3 separate regions of the Homo sapiens genome follow, and regions 2 and 3 are each linked to region 1. Evidence: promoter capture Hi-C in 16 types of primary human blood cells and fetal thymus (Javierre and others, 2016). All regions are on one chromosome and are shown on one strand. Each heading gives the region's core, a stretch centred on a gene start or on the middle of the fragment in contact. The rest is flanking DNA. Distances are from core to core; before and after follow the strand shown.

What was found. Contacts are between HindIII fragments. The CHiCAGO score rates a contact against its expected background, and 5 or more counts as called.
Region 2: a fragment that was not itself captured here is called in contact with the fragment with the promoter of CTU1 in region 1 in 1 of 17 cell types (naive CD8 T cells); the score reaches 6.3 in naive CD8 T cells.
Region 3: a fragment that was not itself captured here is called in contact with the fragment with the promoter of CTU1 in region 1 in 3 of 17 cell types (fetal thymus, naive CD8 T cells and naive CD4 T cells); the score reaches 5.8 in fetal thymus.

The regions. Positions count from the first base shown.
Region 1 is chr19:51,106,191-51,111,336 of GRCh38, forward strand. CTU1 (cytosolic thiouridylase subunit 1) reads right to left here and starts at 2,219. Exons shown (of 3, transcript NM_145232.4): 1 at 2,157-2,219. RefSeq lists an enhancer at 2,185-2,514. The HindIII fragment of the contact is 4,633 bases long and covers 1-3,781 here.
Region 2 is chr19:54,137,850-54,142,995 of GRCh38, forward strand. It overlaps CNOT3 (CCR4-NOT transcription complex subunit 3), which reads left to right. Exons shown (of 18, transcript NM_014516.4): 1 at 1-144; 2 at 5,080-5,146. The coding sequence starts at 5,130. Among named protein-coding and RNA genes, the nearest start is that of CNOT3, 2.7 kb to the left of the region's middle. The HindIII fragment of the contact is 4,608 bases long and covers 1,593-5,146 here.
Region 3 is chr19:54,115,737-54,120,882 of GRCh38, forward strand. It overlaps PRPF31 (pre-mRNA processing factor 31), which reads left to right and starts at 18. Exons shown (of 14, transcript NM_015629.4): 1 at 18-61; 2 at 2,535-2,719; 3 at 2,837-2,897. The coding sequence starts at 2,543. PRPF31-AS1 (PRPF31 antisense RNA 1) reads right to left here. Exons shown (of 4, transcript NR_186329.1): 4 at 3,774-4,656. The HindIII fragment of the contact is 1,299 bases long and covers 1,588-2,886 here.

The DNA of each region.
Region 1 (5,146 bases), core at 969-3,468:
TCAGCCTTGATGTCGTTTACTCTGACACCTGAGGAATACTCCTGCTCCAGATGTTTGCACTGGCTCTCCCCTCTGCCCTGAGTACTCTTCCTGCCACTGAGCCCAAGAAGCAGCCCTTAGGACTCATCTGCAGTGACCGTCGGGAACATCTGTCACAGGTGAGCAGCAACTCTTGGAATCTTTCTTCCCCCGACTTTTGACTCACTCCTTCTGTGCTCCTGGATTTCCTGCTCAATTCTCTTTTGGGGACGCCTCTTCATGTCCTCAGGTCCTGCCTAGCACCCATCTCTTTCCATTTTTTAAAGATTTTTAATTTAATTTAATTTAATTTTTTGAGATGGAGTCTGGCTCTGTTACCCAGGTGGAATGCAGTGGCACAATCTCGGCTCACTGTAACCTCTGCCTCCCAGGGTCAAGCGTTTCTCCTGCCTTAGCCACCCGAGTAACTGGGACTACAGGCGTGTACCACCATGCCTGGCTAATTTTTTTTTTTTTTTTTGTATTTTTAGTAGAGATGCGGTTTCACCATGTTGGCCAGGCTGGTCTTGAACTCCTGACCTCAAGTGATCCGCCCGCCTCGGCCTCCCAAAGTGCTGGGATTACAGGCGTAAGCCACTGTGCCCAGCTTCTTTCCATTCTTATGAGCGCCTCTGAATCATGATATTCAGATGTCCCTCCTGGCTGGTCCTCCACATGGCTGGGGCACCTTAAAGATGTTCAGACCCTAAGCGCCCAGACAACCTATTTCTTCCTCGAAAGGCAGAAACCTGTTCTTGCCCATCTGTTCCCTCTCTTCTGAGAGCAGCCACCACCTTTCATCCAGCCCATCTGCAGGACAGGACGTAACGTCACCCTGGACTCATCTCTCCTCACCCCCTAAATCTACAGTCACCCAGTCCTGGGGGGTCCACGTCCTGAGGAAGGGAGACGCTCGCAGGGGACAAGGCTGCACAAGTTAGCAGAGCCTCATAGGCCATGATGTGGAATTTTAGGTTTATTCAGGAGGAGATGGGAGCCTTGGGAGGTTTTTGAACAGTAAAGTGGTATGATCTGGCATGTTTTAAAAGGATTCCTAGACTGGTCAACATAGCGAGACCCCATCTCTAAAAAAATAAATAAATAAATTAGCTGCACCTGGTGGCACAGGCCTGTAGTACCAGCTACTCAGGAAGCCAAGGCAGGAGGATCACTTGAGCCCAGGAGGTCAAGGCTGCAGTGAGCCATGATCGCACCAGTGCACTCCAGCGTGGGTGATAGAGTGAGACCTTGTCTCAAATAAAAAAAGTGGGATTCGTTTGGCTGCTGTGTGGGGAGGACTGTTGGTTGTCAGGGACAAGGACAGAAGGCTGGAGGTCAGCACACTAGACAGGAGTGCTGGCAGTAGAGGTGGGAAGAAGTGAAATTTTGGATCTATTTTGAAGGTGGAGCCCACAGGACTTGTATAAGACTGATTGGAGTGGGGACTGGGGCAACGACGAGAGAAAGTGATGAAGGGTAACTTTGAGGTTCTGGCCTGAGCATTGGAGGGACGGTGGGGCCATTTTGTGAGGTGAGAAGACCAGGAATTCCATTTGGCCACGTCAGGTTTGACATGCATGTTAAGCGTCTTCCCTCAAAGACTTTATGGACCCTCGTCACTGAGTCGAGCGCCTCCACCAGGGCCCTCAGAGCTGCCCTGATCCTGACTAGCTGTCACTGGTGACAGGTCTGTCTCTCTGCTTCAAGGCAGGGACAGGGTTGGTCTGGTGCCCTCGCTCCCGCCGCCCTGCGCAGAGTCGGTGCTCAGTAAGTATCTGTAGGATGAGGGAATAATAAGTGCTCCCAGAAGAGAGGCCGCGGACCCCAGGGATGCCTCTGGATTGCAGCCTTGTCAAAAGGACAGATAATGTGTGGCATGGGGGCGGGGACAGGCAGATAGTAACATAGGGGCGGGGGCAAGCAGATGGTCTTATCCTGTCTTGGGGAAGGGAGTGGCCCGGTAAGAGACAGGCCGGACCGCAGCGTTCAAAGTGGGAATCCTGGCTACAAGGCCTCAGGGACACGGGCGCTGGGAAATCACAGAGGCCTTACGCTCGAAGAGACCCTCAACCCTCCCACGGCACCGCAACAAAGAGCCGGAGTCCACATGCCGACCCACCGCAGGAGGAAATACTCACCCGGGCAGAACTCAGTGCTGGGATGCCCACACTGCCCACCACGCGGAAGCCTGGCCCGGAAGTGACTCCGAGACTACCACTCCCATAAGGTCTTGGGGCTTTCTTGCCTAGAACTCCCAGAAGCCCATGCGACACTTCCGCTGGATGCGCCTACGGCTCCGGGGTCCCGCTTGGCCTACAACTCCCAGAAACACTTGCATTGCTCTTTCTGCCGCTCCCAAAATACACTGCTCCCCCTCCCCCCGCGTTTACTTTCTGCGCCTGCGCGCGGCCGCAGGGAGCGGCGGAGCTGCGTGTACTGTTGTCATGGCAGCGCGCTGTCACCCGGCAGGTTGCTGGATGGGCGAAGTAGTTGTATTCTGATTAACTGATTTTGTGGGATTATTATAGGATTTTAAGGGGATTACAGGGCCTATGATTTCTGCCCTTTGAGGCGGGGTTGCGGGTGGGAATTGAAGGTGGAACTGCAGGGGTTGGTCGCTAGTGTAAAAGGCGCAGATAGCGCATGCGTAGAGCAGACTTCGAGGATTGGAGTGGAACTCCGCGCGCACGCGGGGGCTGTCGTGATGCGCGTGCTGGAGACCCAGACTCTAAACAGAAGGATCCAAAGACCCTTCTCACCTAACCCAGGAGCCCAGAGGCTCAGAGACTCAGACCCTTGAGACTAAGGGGGTTAAAAACGCAGACCCCTGGCACCAAAGCACCTGAGAGAACCAGTAGACCTGGAGACAACCGTCTGCACCCTAGACACAGGGATCTGGAGGCCTCCACCCTCCCCACAAGGCCCAAGGGTCTTGAAGACCCCGGTGACTCAAATACCGGGGCACAAGGAGTTTAAGGACTCAGATATCTGAGACCCTTGAGATCCAGGTCCCCAAACCTAGGTCCTCGAAAAAACTGAGGCTCAAAATTCCTCTAGACGGCGCGGTGGCTTACACCTGTAATCCCAGCACTTTGGGAGGCCGAGGCGGGTGGATCACGAGGTCAAAAGATGGAGACCATCCTGGCCAACATGGTGAAACCTCATCTCTACTAAAAATACAAAAATTAGCTGGGCGTAGTGGTGCGCGCCTGTAGTCCCAGCTACTCGGGAGGCTGAGGCAGGAGAATGGCTTGAACCCAGAAGGCAGAGGTTGCAGTGAGCCGAGATCGCGCCACTGCACTCCAGCCTGGCCACAGAGTGAGACTCTGTCTCAAAAAAAAAAAAAAAATCCTCTAGATTAAGGGACCACCAGAGCCTTAGACTGAGATGTGGAGATGTGCAGAGAGCCCCAGGATGTGTAGGTCTACGGCCGGTGATGACGTGAGAAGGAACCCCATGCACCCTGTAGCCCATTTTTTTCCCCCATAACAGGAAACCATGATGCCTTCCTTTCATATTAAATGAGCTCCGTGAGGTCACTCTTAAGCCTTATCATGGGCCAGTTCTGTTCATCTGTGTGCGTTGGTTCATTTGTTGAATTTATTTCCTGAGGTCTCCTTGTGCCAGGCTGCCCCTGGGCTAGGTTTAGGTGACACAAATGAATCAGACTTGGTTACTGTCCTCTGAGCATCCCCCACCCCTTACACCACCACCCTGTCCTCCTGGTGGGGGAGACAGGGACTTAGTCAATATGGAGTGATAAAGCTTGACATGGAAGTGTTAAGAGCCTTGAAAGCTCAATTTCAATCACTGCCAGCCAGGGTGTCAGAAAAAAAAAAAATTCAACAAAGGCTGCTATGTGCCATGCATCATCTCAGTTTGTTCATCTGTGAAAGGGGGGCAATAATAGCCTGCCTCATAGGATTTATGCGAAGTCAAATTGAATTAACAACACCTCTAAAGAATTTAGAACAGCTTCTGGCACATAGTATGTGCTCAACAAGTGGTTATTATTCTCATCTCAATTCTCATAACATTAAGATTATATGTTACATATGAGTTGGGTACAACTGTAATTCTTCTTCTTCTTTTTTTTTTTTTTTTTTTGAGATGGAGTCTCACTATGTCACCCAGGCTGGAGTGCAGTGGCGCGATCTCGGCTCACTGCAACCTCCACCTTCTGGATTCAAGTGATTCTCCTGCTTCAGCCTGCTGGGTAGCTGGAATTACAGGTGCGCTACCACACCTGGCTAATGTTAGTATTTTCAGTAGAGACGGTGTTTCACCATAGTGGCCAGGCTGGTCTCAAACTCCTGACCTCAAGTGATCCCAAAGTGCTGGGATTACAGGTGTGAGTCAGCATGCCCAGCCTTGTAATTCTACTTAGGTGAGGATCTTGAAGCTCAGTGATGTCACTTCCCTGGACTGCCTGACTCTACAGCAGGGGTTGCAAACCTTTCCTGTAAAGGGCCAGGTAGCCAATATTTTAGGCTTTGTGGGCCACAGGGTCTTTGTGGCAACTCTGCTGTTGTATGTTGAAAGCAGCCATTGATATAAGATAAGCAAGTGAGGGTGGCTGTATACCAATAAAACTTTATTGATGGACACTGACATTTGAATTTCATGTAATTTGCATGTGTCAGGAAATATTCTTCTTTTGAAGAATTTTGAAGATTTTACACCATTTAAAGATGTAAAATCATTTGTAGCTTGTGGGCCATGTAAAAACAGGCAGCAGGCCCGATTTGGCTGGTGGTCTCTGGTTTGTAGCTCCTTGCTCAAAGCCTGTCTCCTTAGTCTCCAAGCTGTGCTTGCTCCTGGAAGAGGTGTGAAGTGTGGCAAAGGAGGTTGAGAATTTGAGGGTCGAAATGGCCTTTTAATACAGAAGAAATCGCCTGAGCAAAGAAAGATCTTGTGGCAAGAAAGCACAGGGTGCCTTTTGTTTGAATGCAATTTATGTTATCTAATCAGGTTATGCACTTAAATGCTATAAAATGGAAACAGTGCATAGACTCTACAGTGAAGTCTCCCTGTCGTCTCCCCCCACCCACCCACTGTCTAGTTCTCCTCCTCAGAGGCAGCCTCTGTCCTGCAACAATGTGGGAGTGCATGCTGAATCGGGGTGTAT
Region 2 (5,146 bases), core at 2,647-5,146, 3.0 Mb after region 1:
CCCGGGCCCACTCCCCCAACCCCACTTCCGCTTCGCGCCGCTATCGCGATAGCGCCCGGGCCCGGGGCGCGAGAAAAAGGCGGCGGGCGCTCGCCTCCCCCGCCTGTCGCGATACGCTCCTCAGCGGCGGCGCCAGCTCCTGTGGTGAGAGCGTCAGGCTCGACTGGGCCGGACCCCTTCCCTTCCTCCCCCCGGCGCCATCGGCCGCCCTCCCCGCCGCCTCCCGCCCTGGCGACACCGCCGTCTGTCGCGACATGGCCTCCCCTCGCCTGCCCCCTGCCGCCGCCTCTGCAGCGCGGGGCTCCCGGCGGGGGGCGGCTCCCTCCCTCTCGCCCTCCCGTTCCTGCGCCTCTTTCACGTTCCTCAGCGCCTCCCGGGGGTCCTTCCGCGACCCGGACCCCGGGCCCCGCCCGCCGCCGCCTCCCCGCGTGGCATCGCGTCGGGCCCCCCGGTAGGGGTGTGAGGGTGCGAAGCCTCCCGGGCGCGAGGTGCCCGCCCCTCTCCGCGTCGGTATTGGCTCCTGGCTGGAAGGATGGAGGCGCCCCTGGTCCCAGGTGCCCGCCCTCTCGGGGCTCAGGTGCCTGCCCCCCTCGGCCTCGGTCCTTCGCGTTGTGGGGCAGCCTCCGCGCCGGGGCTTCTCCCTCGACGGTGGCGGGGAGGGGGGGTGGTGGTCGGGACGAGGACCCCAGCTGGGTGGGGGAGTCACCCTTCCCAGGACCGAGGCCGCCCTCCGCATCCCTCCTCACTGCTCCCGGGAGCGCAGCCTCCCCTGGATCTCAGGTTCCAGCTGCCCGTCTGTATCGGATGGGAGCCTCTTGGGAGAGGAGTGGAGGAGAAACTCCCCGTTAGTTGGAGCCTTTGCCGAAGTTTCCACCTCTGTAGTCTGCAGCTCTTCCCTCTCATAGCGAGTAGCGCCCTGGGTGGCTCCAGCCTCGCCATCCCGCTGCACTGGGCGCCTGCCTTTTTGGGGGAGTTTGGCTTTCCCCCACCTGGGGTACAGGACCGTCCTCAGTGTGGCCCACGTCTGGTCTCAGCTCTCACACTTCTTTGATCCTGGCGTCTGCCCCTGGCTTTGCAGCCTTGAACTCCCCTGCATCGTGACTCTCCGACCTTCTGGGTGTGGGCGTCTCCCAGTGATATCAGGACCACTGTGGTCTTGTTGCTGGGGGCTGCTGGGATCCCCTGGCGCTCAGGTGCCTGGTGAAAGACACTAAGCCGCCACGCTGTCCATGTTAGTGAGCTCCCACTGCGGGCAGCACCAGCCCCTCTTTCTGAGCAGTCCCTGCCTCTCAGTGCAGGGCGGCCACCCACCCCGGGGTGAGCTCTCCTGTCCTTTTGGTGAGGGGTTTTGATGTCTCCCCTCCCTCCCTTCACCCCTGCCTGAGTATGAGGCTTCTTCCATCTTCACACCAGTCTCCTCCTTTAGGGTGTCAGCTCTCCAAGGACCAAGAAGCCCACTGCCCTTGATATTTGCATCAGATCCCACACTGTGGGTTTGTTGACTTCCCATCTACCCTTACGCTGGGTGTCAGCAGTTGGAGAACAAGGGTTTCGCCTTCTGGCCCCGCTGCTGGTACCCCATGAGAGTAGGAAGCTTCCTAGACCCGGGTTCCTGTACTGCGAGGTGGGGGCTCTTCCCTCTGGGGCTGTGCCTTCTCTCCAGGGTAAGGACCCTTTCTTGGTGTCACCTCCCCCAGGGATAAGGTTCTTGCCATCCTTGGTATTGGTATGGCTGCTTTTCTGGATTTGAGGTGTCCACGCCTCTGCATGTGTCCCCACCGTAAGGCTGAGGACCCCTCTCGGATGCAGGTGCCCCCGGCTAATGCTTCCAAAACCCCCTCTTGATTTGTCACTGTATGGGGTAAGGCATAGTTTCCTGGCTGTGTGGATGTAAGATACCTGAGTCTCAAGCGGGAGACTCCACTGTAGACCCTGTCCCTGGGACCAGAGACTTCTCTGGTGTAGACTTTCCAAGGTGGGAGATTCCAGCCCCCCACCCTTGGCATGGGGCATCTCAGTGGAGATGACTACCTCTACCCCAGGCCCTAACGCATCCTTCTTCTGGAGTCTCAGAGCCTCTGTGTGGCCACGTCAGCAGCCACCTGGGTTAAGGATCACCCTTCAACATCACTTCTCAGAGCTCCTTGCTGCAGAGGCGGAAGCTCTCCCAGATCAAAGGTGCCTCATGACAAAGACCACTCTGTGGGCACATGACGGCCCCCAAGGTTAAGGACCACCCGGTGTTAGTTTCCCAGGGCTGACCTCCTGCCCCTCCCTCCTCGAGTCTTTGTGTGGTGGTATCATCTTCCCTGAGATGAAGTCTGGGGGGCTCTTCTTTACTGGTTTTGGCTCTGATTTTAGCGTGTTGGCTCCTGTGAGGCTGGTGTCCTGCTCACCTCCCCCCACCCCGCCACCCGCCTTGTGGGTCCCTTCCCTGTGGGGATGTGTGTTCCTCTTGGGTAAGTCTCCTCCTGGGCCGAGGTTCCCAGATTCCTCAGTGCTCTTGGAGAGCCTTTGCTGCTGGAGCACAGGTTCTTCACGCCTGAGAGTGGACCTGCGATCACCACCTTCCTTGGAGGATCTTGGTGGATGCCCCCCTGACTACAGCAAATGGGGCTCTTTCTTCTCTGGCGGCGTCTCTGCTTCGAGACTCAGGCTCCAGCTTCCCTTCTCTCTGGTCCTTTGCTGGGGGGACCAGAGGTACAGATACCCTCATGATATAGGGATTTTCTTAGCGGGGAAGGTGTTGTCTCTACTGTGGCTAAGGCTCCAGCCTCTCTAGGGGACAAGTACCCTGGGCCTCTGGCACTTGCCCCTTCTCTGTGGAGGAGCTGCCTCCTCACTGGGTCTCAGCTGTAGCCGACTTCGATGTCACACTGTTCTGTCTGAAACATCACCTCCCTGGGTTAGCGCTCTTGTTCCCCTCCTCCTGGCTTGTGACCCCTCCAGGACTTCCTTCTCTTGCTGCCACAGTGTGGTCTCCTGTCTGTGGGTATTCTTCCTCTGCACTAGGATACCAGTCCTTTCCGTGTGGAGACACAGGGAGGGCGTCACCTGCCTAAGGTGTTGATTGCCTTGTTTAGGGGTGTAGACCATGAGACCTCTTCTCTCTCTGGGCTGGAGCACCTGCCCATGACCCTCTGTTGGGTTCTTGGGATGGAAAGAGGGAGTGTAAACTCTCGTTTCACATTCTTGTTCCCCCTATGCAGTAAGAGGCTTTTCTGTGTTGGGGTGTTGGACTTTGGTGAGGATCCCTGCACACCTGAGCTCTGGTGTCCAGGCCCTTGCCTTGTGTGAGCTCCCTGGGTCAAAGAGGCTTTCCCCTCCTCAGCCTGAATCCCCACTGTGGCACCTTCTCCTGGGTCCTTTTGTTGGTTGCTTTGCCTTCTTAGAGATTCCCCAGGTAGGGCGTGATAGCTGACCTGGGCGGGGGCTGCTGCGGCTTTCTTTAGGTTGGGCCTTTTACTGAGGAGATTTAAATTCCCTCAAGTGTAAGGTAGCACCCCTACCTATTATCACCCAGAATGGGTCCCTGCGGTGTTGGGAAAATTCTCCCTGGGGGTAAGGTACCAGCCCTGTCCTTTGTGGGCTTCTTGTTCTAAAGCATATCCGTCCCATATGGTTGCTGCTAGTCACATGTGGTGATTAGTAACTAGTTAAAAATGAAAAATTCAGTTCCTCCATTACACTTGCCACATTTCAGATGTTCAGTGGCCAACAGATATGCGCAAATAGAGTGTTTCCAGCATTGCAAAGTTCTGTTGGATAGCACTGTTTGCCAGATGTTCCCTTCTTTGTGGGTGAGGACTCTTTTGGTGTGACTTCCCTCTGTATTGAGGCTCTTGTTCCTCAGTATGGGGCTGTTTCTGTCTTTACAGTAAGTGACTACTCCAGGGTTCCCTGCCCTGCACACGTAGAGTGGGAGCGGCCCGTGGATCCCAGGGAACTGTGCTTTTCATTGTAGGCCCCCTCCCTGGAGGGGAAGAGGGCAATCTCCGCTGGTATCTCAGAAGTCTTCTTCTGAGGCATAAGCCTCTCTTCCCAGGGCTCCCCTGGTCTCGCTGTCAGGCCCTAAGGTATGTCTTCCCTTGGACTAAAGCTCCTTGGAACTCCCTTTTGACCTCAGTCTTCTCTGGGTTCCAGGTAACTTCCTTTAAAATAAAGACGCTCCTCTCTTGAAGTTTTGGGTTCCTGCCCTGATGGTCTATGTCTCCCTGACTCTAAATTACCAATCCACTTGCTATGGGATTCCTCCGTGAGTGCAGATCGGCTCCCTCACAGCTGCGGTACCTTTGCACCCTCTTATCTTAGTAAGATTTCTGTCTTCTCCCAGGTCTCTCTTGGGTACTGCCTTCTGCCCCCAAATCTCTAAGCCTTCTTGGTATTAGCTTCTTTGGGTTAGGAGTGTTATTTCCTTTTGGTTTAAGGATCCTGCTCTGGAATAAATGTCTTGGTGGTTTGAGTCCCTTCTACTTGGCATTCAGCCCTGTCTGCATGAGCGGGTTCAGCTCTTCACAGCTTTCGGCATCTCTGCTCGCCGTCGTTTTCCCCCACCCCCAATCTTTCTTCTCCTACCTACAGCTTACACACACACACACACACGCCCTTCTCTGTGAGCTGCCAGTTTCATTTGTCTCCTGACTTGTCTGAGGGATGACCTCTCCTAGCCACCTCTGCCCAGCCCCTCTGAGTAGGAAGTGTGATCTCCAGGGCTAATGCCTCCATCCCAGTCATCAGCTGTGTGCAGCATGACTGTCCTGCTCTGAAAAACCTTTTTGAGTGTATTCTGGGGAGAAGGTACTCCATGCTCTAGGAATTTTCCACTTCCTGAGTCAGAGGCACACAAAAAAGTATGTAACTTTTCTTGTTTCAACAAACTTATGGGGTCCCCTGTTGGCCAGACACTATGCTGGGCAGTCAAGCGAGCATCAGGAGAACTGGGGCTGGTCTCTTGTCAGATAGCAAATGCTTCTTCTCTTTACCAGTCCCACCTACCTCACTATGCTGACTAGGTCCATGTCTCTGGGTTTTTACCAGCCAGGGAATACGTGTTAATTCCTCTCCAATCTCTCCTAGCAGCGTCCGTCTCCAAGAGAGTATGAAGAGAGTGCGTCTGTAGGGCAGGGAAGATGGCGGACAAGCGCAA
Region 3 (5,146 bases), core at 987-3,486, 3.0 Mb after region 1:
GAGAGTGAGACGTCATCGGTGAGCGACTAACGCTAGAAACAGTGGTGCGCGGAGAGGAGAGGTGAGTGTGATGGGGACCACGGGGAGCGGGAGGCTGGGCTCCTGGGTCTGGGAGAAGAAGTGTGTGAGGAAAAAGGCGGGTCTTTACAGCTTGGTTTTTGTTTTTTTGTTGTTTGTTTGTTTTGAGACGGAGTCTCGTTCTGTTGCCCAGGTTGGAGAGCAGTGGCGCGATCTCGGCTCATTGCAACCTCCGTCTCCCGGGTTCAAACGATTCTTCTGCCTCAGCCTCCAGAGTAGCTGGGATTACAGGCGCCCGCCACCACCCCTGACTAATTTTTGTATTTTTAGTAGAGACGGGGTTTCCCCATGTTGGTCAGGCTGGTCTCGAACTCCTGATCTCGTGATCCGCCCGCCTCGGCCTCCCAAAGTGCTGTGATTACAGGCATGATCCACCGCGCCTGGCCAGTTGTTTGTTTGTTTTGTCTGAGACGGAGTTTCGCTCTTGTTGCCCAGGCTGGAGTGCAGTGGCGCGATCTCGGTTCACTGCAACCTCCGCCTCCCGGATTCAAGCGATTCTCCTGCCTCAGCCTCCCGAGTAGCTGGGATTACAGGCGCGCACCACCACGCCCGGCTAGTTTTTTGTATTTTTAGTAGAGACGGGGTTTCACTATGTTGGCCAGGCTGGTCTCCAACTCCTGACCTCAGATGATCCACCCGCCTGGGCCTCCCAAAGTGCTGGGATTACAGGCATGAGCCACCGCTCCCGGCCTTTTACAGCCTGTTTACCCAAAAGTCTTAATATGCGCCTACCATGGTGTGGCCCTGGGGATGTGGAAGGAGCAAAAATTGTTCGCTACCCTCTTAGAGCTTTGGTTGATGCCTGGCAGACAGGCTTTATCAAATAATTACTTCATTAATCACAAATGTGTGAAGTGCCTTACTGTAGACACGCAGAGCGTGCGGGACACGTTATCACAAAGCAACCTCCTGTAGTCTAGAGTGGGGCGTGTGGGTCAGGGAGGTGGAACGTGAGAGCTGAAGGCTGAGGAGATGCTGGGCTACTAAGAAGTGAGGAGAGCCAGACGCCATGGCTCACTCCTGTAATCCCAGCACTTTGGGTGGCCCAGGCGAAAGGATCGCTTGAGCCCAGGAGTTTGAGACCAGCCTGAGCAACACAGTGAGACCCTGTCTCTACAGAAAAATTTAAAAATTAGCCGGGCGTGCTGGTGCGTGCCTGTCATCTCAGCTATCGGGAGGCTGAGGCGGGAGAATCGCTTGAGCCCAGGTGATCGAGGCTGCCGTGAGCTATGATGGCGCCACTGCACTGCAGCCTAGGTGACAGAGCAAGACATGGTCTCAAAAAAAAGAAAAGAAAAGAAAAAACAAAGTGAAGGAAAGGGCCACTTTAGTTACAAGGGACTCCTGTACAAAGACCTGGAGGCGGGAAGAGACCGATAATGTAACCAACTCAAGTTTCTGCTACTCAGAGGCAGAGGAAGTGGGGGGTGGTGAAAGTAAAGCAGCTTTACTGATCAAATGCTCGCAGATGAGAAATGGCCAAGCTAATGTCTTTAGAAGACCATTTCAAGCTTTAGGCTGGGGAGAGGGGCTTAAAAAGGGGAACTTTGAATGGGAGGCATACAGGAGTGGTGCTGGGTACAAGGTATGTGTGTCTTGCTCCGAAGGCTGTCTTGAGTCACGGGCCACCTGGAGCATGGGCTGGTGTCAAGTCAACAATGGCCACGTTGTAGATTGATCGCCTTGAGGTGATCTCTGGAGTTTTGCAGCTGGGTTTCCATACCTAGTTTGTTTCAAGATTAGCCCCTGCGGCGAGGCGCGGTGGCTTACGCCTGTAATCCCAACAGTTTGGGAGGCCAAGGTGGGTCGCTCACTTGAGGTCAAGAGTTCAAGACCAGCCTGGCTTACATAGTGAAACCTTGACTCTACAAAAAAAAAAAAAAAAAATTAGCTGGGCATGGTGGCAGGTGCCTGTAGTCCCAGCTACTCAGGAGGCTGAGGCAGGAGAATCGCTTGAACCCAGGAGGTGGAGGTTGCAAGTGAGCCAAGACTGCGCCACTGCACTCCAACCTGGGTGTCAGAGCCAGACTCCATCTTTAAAAAATAAATAAATAAAGATTAGCCCCTGGAACTTCTAAGTAAGCACATAGATAAGCCAGCAGTGCAAGACAGTATCTAGTGGGAAAGGAGGGAAACAAAGAATTTCAAAGTATGTTTTCAAGGCTAAAGGCAAGAAAGGAATAAGAAAGTTTGCAAATGCATTTGGAATCTACACCACTTGGTTCCAGTAAGTCTTAGCAAGGTGGCGGTCATAGGGGTGTGCTGCGTCTTGCACAGGTCGGAGCTGGAGACTCGCCAGTGAACAAAACAAACTAAAGCACCTGTTGTCGTGGAGCCTGCATGCTAGTGGGGTTGATAAAGAAGGACCAGGGTCTTCTGGGGGAGAATCATCGCTCAGTAATAAGGAGGGACTTTGTCGGGGCAAGTTTTTAGGGAACGCTGCTGTCCCTCCCCAGGCCTCGGGATGTCTCTGGCAGATGAGCTCTTAGCTGATCTCGAAGAGGCAGCAGAAGAGGAGGAAGGAGGAAGCTATGGGGAGGAAGAAGAGGAGCCAGCGATCGAGGATGTGCAGGAGGAGACACAGCTGGATCTTTCCGGGGATTCAGTCAAGACCATCGCCAAGCTATGGGATAGTAAGATGGTAAGAGGACAAGAGGTGTTCCTAGCAGGGGGCTCTAGACAGAATCTCCCAGAAGGGGGTGATACAGGCTTCTTTTTGAAGAGTGCTGGATTCTGACTGTCTTCTCCTTTCCTACAGTTTGCTGAGATTATGATGAAGATTGAGGAGTATATCAGCAAGCAAGCCAAAGCTTCAGAAGGTGCTTCCTCCCACTCTGTGCCCCTCCCCATCTCCTGTCTCTCCTGCCAGGCCCCCTGGCTCCCTGGCTGCTTGTGGCTGGGTATATCTCCTTCTCAGCCTTTTCCAGAGCCTTCTTTTTTTTTTGTTTCACCCCAACCCGTTCCCTTTTCCACTAAATATATATTGCATTGTAAAGCTCATGCTTCTTAAGTCCTTCCTGTGTGCTGAGCTTACTGATCATGATAGGACTCAGCTTGAGGTTTCCCAGACTTCACTGATTCACATGACCGGTTACAGGGTTTTTGCCACATCTATAAGCCGCTTATCCTATTATTTGCTTAACATATTCTTTGAGTCTAGGACTTTTTTTCTTAAATTTATCTGAGAAGGAAGCAAATTGCTACCATGAATGGAAAACTGGTATCATTTGGCAAAGACAAAGTCACTGTATAAAAATAGATATATAATTATTTAGGAACCACCTAAGGCCGGGCGCCGTGGCTCACGCCTGTAATCCCAGCACTTTGGGAGGCGGAGGCAGGTGGATCATGAGTTCAGGAGATCGAGACCATCCTGGCTAACACGGTGACACCCCGTCTCTACTAAAAATACAAAAAATTAGCCAGGCGTGGTGGCGGGTGCCTGTAGTCCCAGCTACTCAGGAGGCTGAGGCGGGAGAATGGCGTGAACCTGGGAGGCGGAGCTTGCAGTGAGCCGAGATCGTGCCACTGCACTCCAGCCTGGGCGACAGAGCAAGACTCCGTCTCAAAAAAAAAAAAAATAACCTAAAACCTTTTCTCATGCCCAAATTGAGAGAACACTAGCTTATCTCATGAGTGCTCAGACTCACTCTTAAGAGGGCAGTCCTGTTACCATTCCTATTCTTTTTTTTTTTTCCTTGAGATAGAGTCTCCCTCTGTCGCCCAGGCTGGAGTGCAGTGATGTGTTCTTGGCTCATTGCAACCTCCACCTCCCGGGTTCAAGCGATTCTCCTCCCTCAGCCTTATGTATAGCTGGGATTACAGGTATGCAACACCATGCCTGGCTATTTTGTATTTTTTAGTAGAGATGGGGTTTCACCATGTTGACCAGGCTAGTCTCGAACTCCTGACCTCAAGTAATCCGCCCACCTCGGCCTCCCAAAGTGCTGGGATTACAGGCATGAGCCACTACGCCCAGCCTTCCCATTCTTCTTGAATGGAATTTGTTGATGACAGGAAGCCATAGGAGGTTTCTGGGGAAAGAAGTGTAGTGAGAGGGCAGAGTTTCGGGAGACTCACTGCTTGCTTTCTTTAACGTTTACCTGGGCACCCAGTTGAATCGCCCAGGTCTTTGCTCTCAAAGTACTCAAGGTCTAGTGGAAGAGGCAGGCCAGGTTCCAGACAGCTATCAGTGGTGGTACCAAGCTGGGGACACCGGAGCCACAGGAGGGACTGGCTGACCCTGCCCCAGGTGTCAGGAAGAATCGATAGCTGAATTGGACTGTAGAGCATGAATGCATGTGCCAGGCAAAGAAAGGGAGAAGGGGGCCCAGGGAAAGACAGCGGCAGGCCCGGGGCCTCAGATATCCGGAGAGAGAATCCTGCAGAGTTCCAGATGCCAGGCCAAGGAATTTCTCCCTCCAGAGGGTTATGGGACACAGAAAGTGACATTTCCTGATGTCAGGCCAGGCTCAGGGATGGAGTCAGACCCCGTCACACCCGGTGTCTGGTTGAGGAGGCAGAGGTGAAACATCTCACAAGCTGTGGCAGTCCCTGTTTACTGGAGGTGCACAAGTGCTGCGGGTACACAGAGGAGGCGTCTGATCCTTCCAGAAAGGGAGGGAAGGATTCTGAGTCGCTGCCTGAGTCTTAAGGACTTAAAGAGCCATTTGAGCATCAGGGTTAGGAGTGCAGACTCTGACGCCGCCCTGCCTGGTGTCAGATCTGAGCTCTGCCTTCTACTGGCTGTGACATCAGGCAGTTAGTATTTGCATGACTTTTAAACACAACATCTTTTTGTTTGTTTGTTTTTTGAGACAGGGTCTCACTCTGTCACCCAGGCCAGAATGCAGTGGCACGATCCCAGCTCACTGCAGCCTTGACCTTGTGGGCTCAGGCGTTCCTGCCTCAGCCTCCCAGGCAGCTGGGACCACAGGTGTACACCACCATGCCTGGCTAATTTTTTTTCTTTAATTATGTGTAGAGATGGGGTCTCCCTATGTCGCCCAGGTTGCTCTCCAACTCCTGGGCTCAAGCAGTTCTCCTGCCTCAGCCTCCCAAAGTGCTG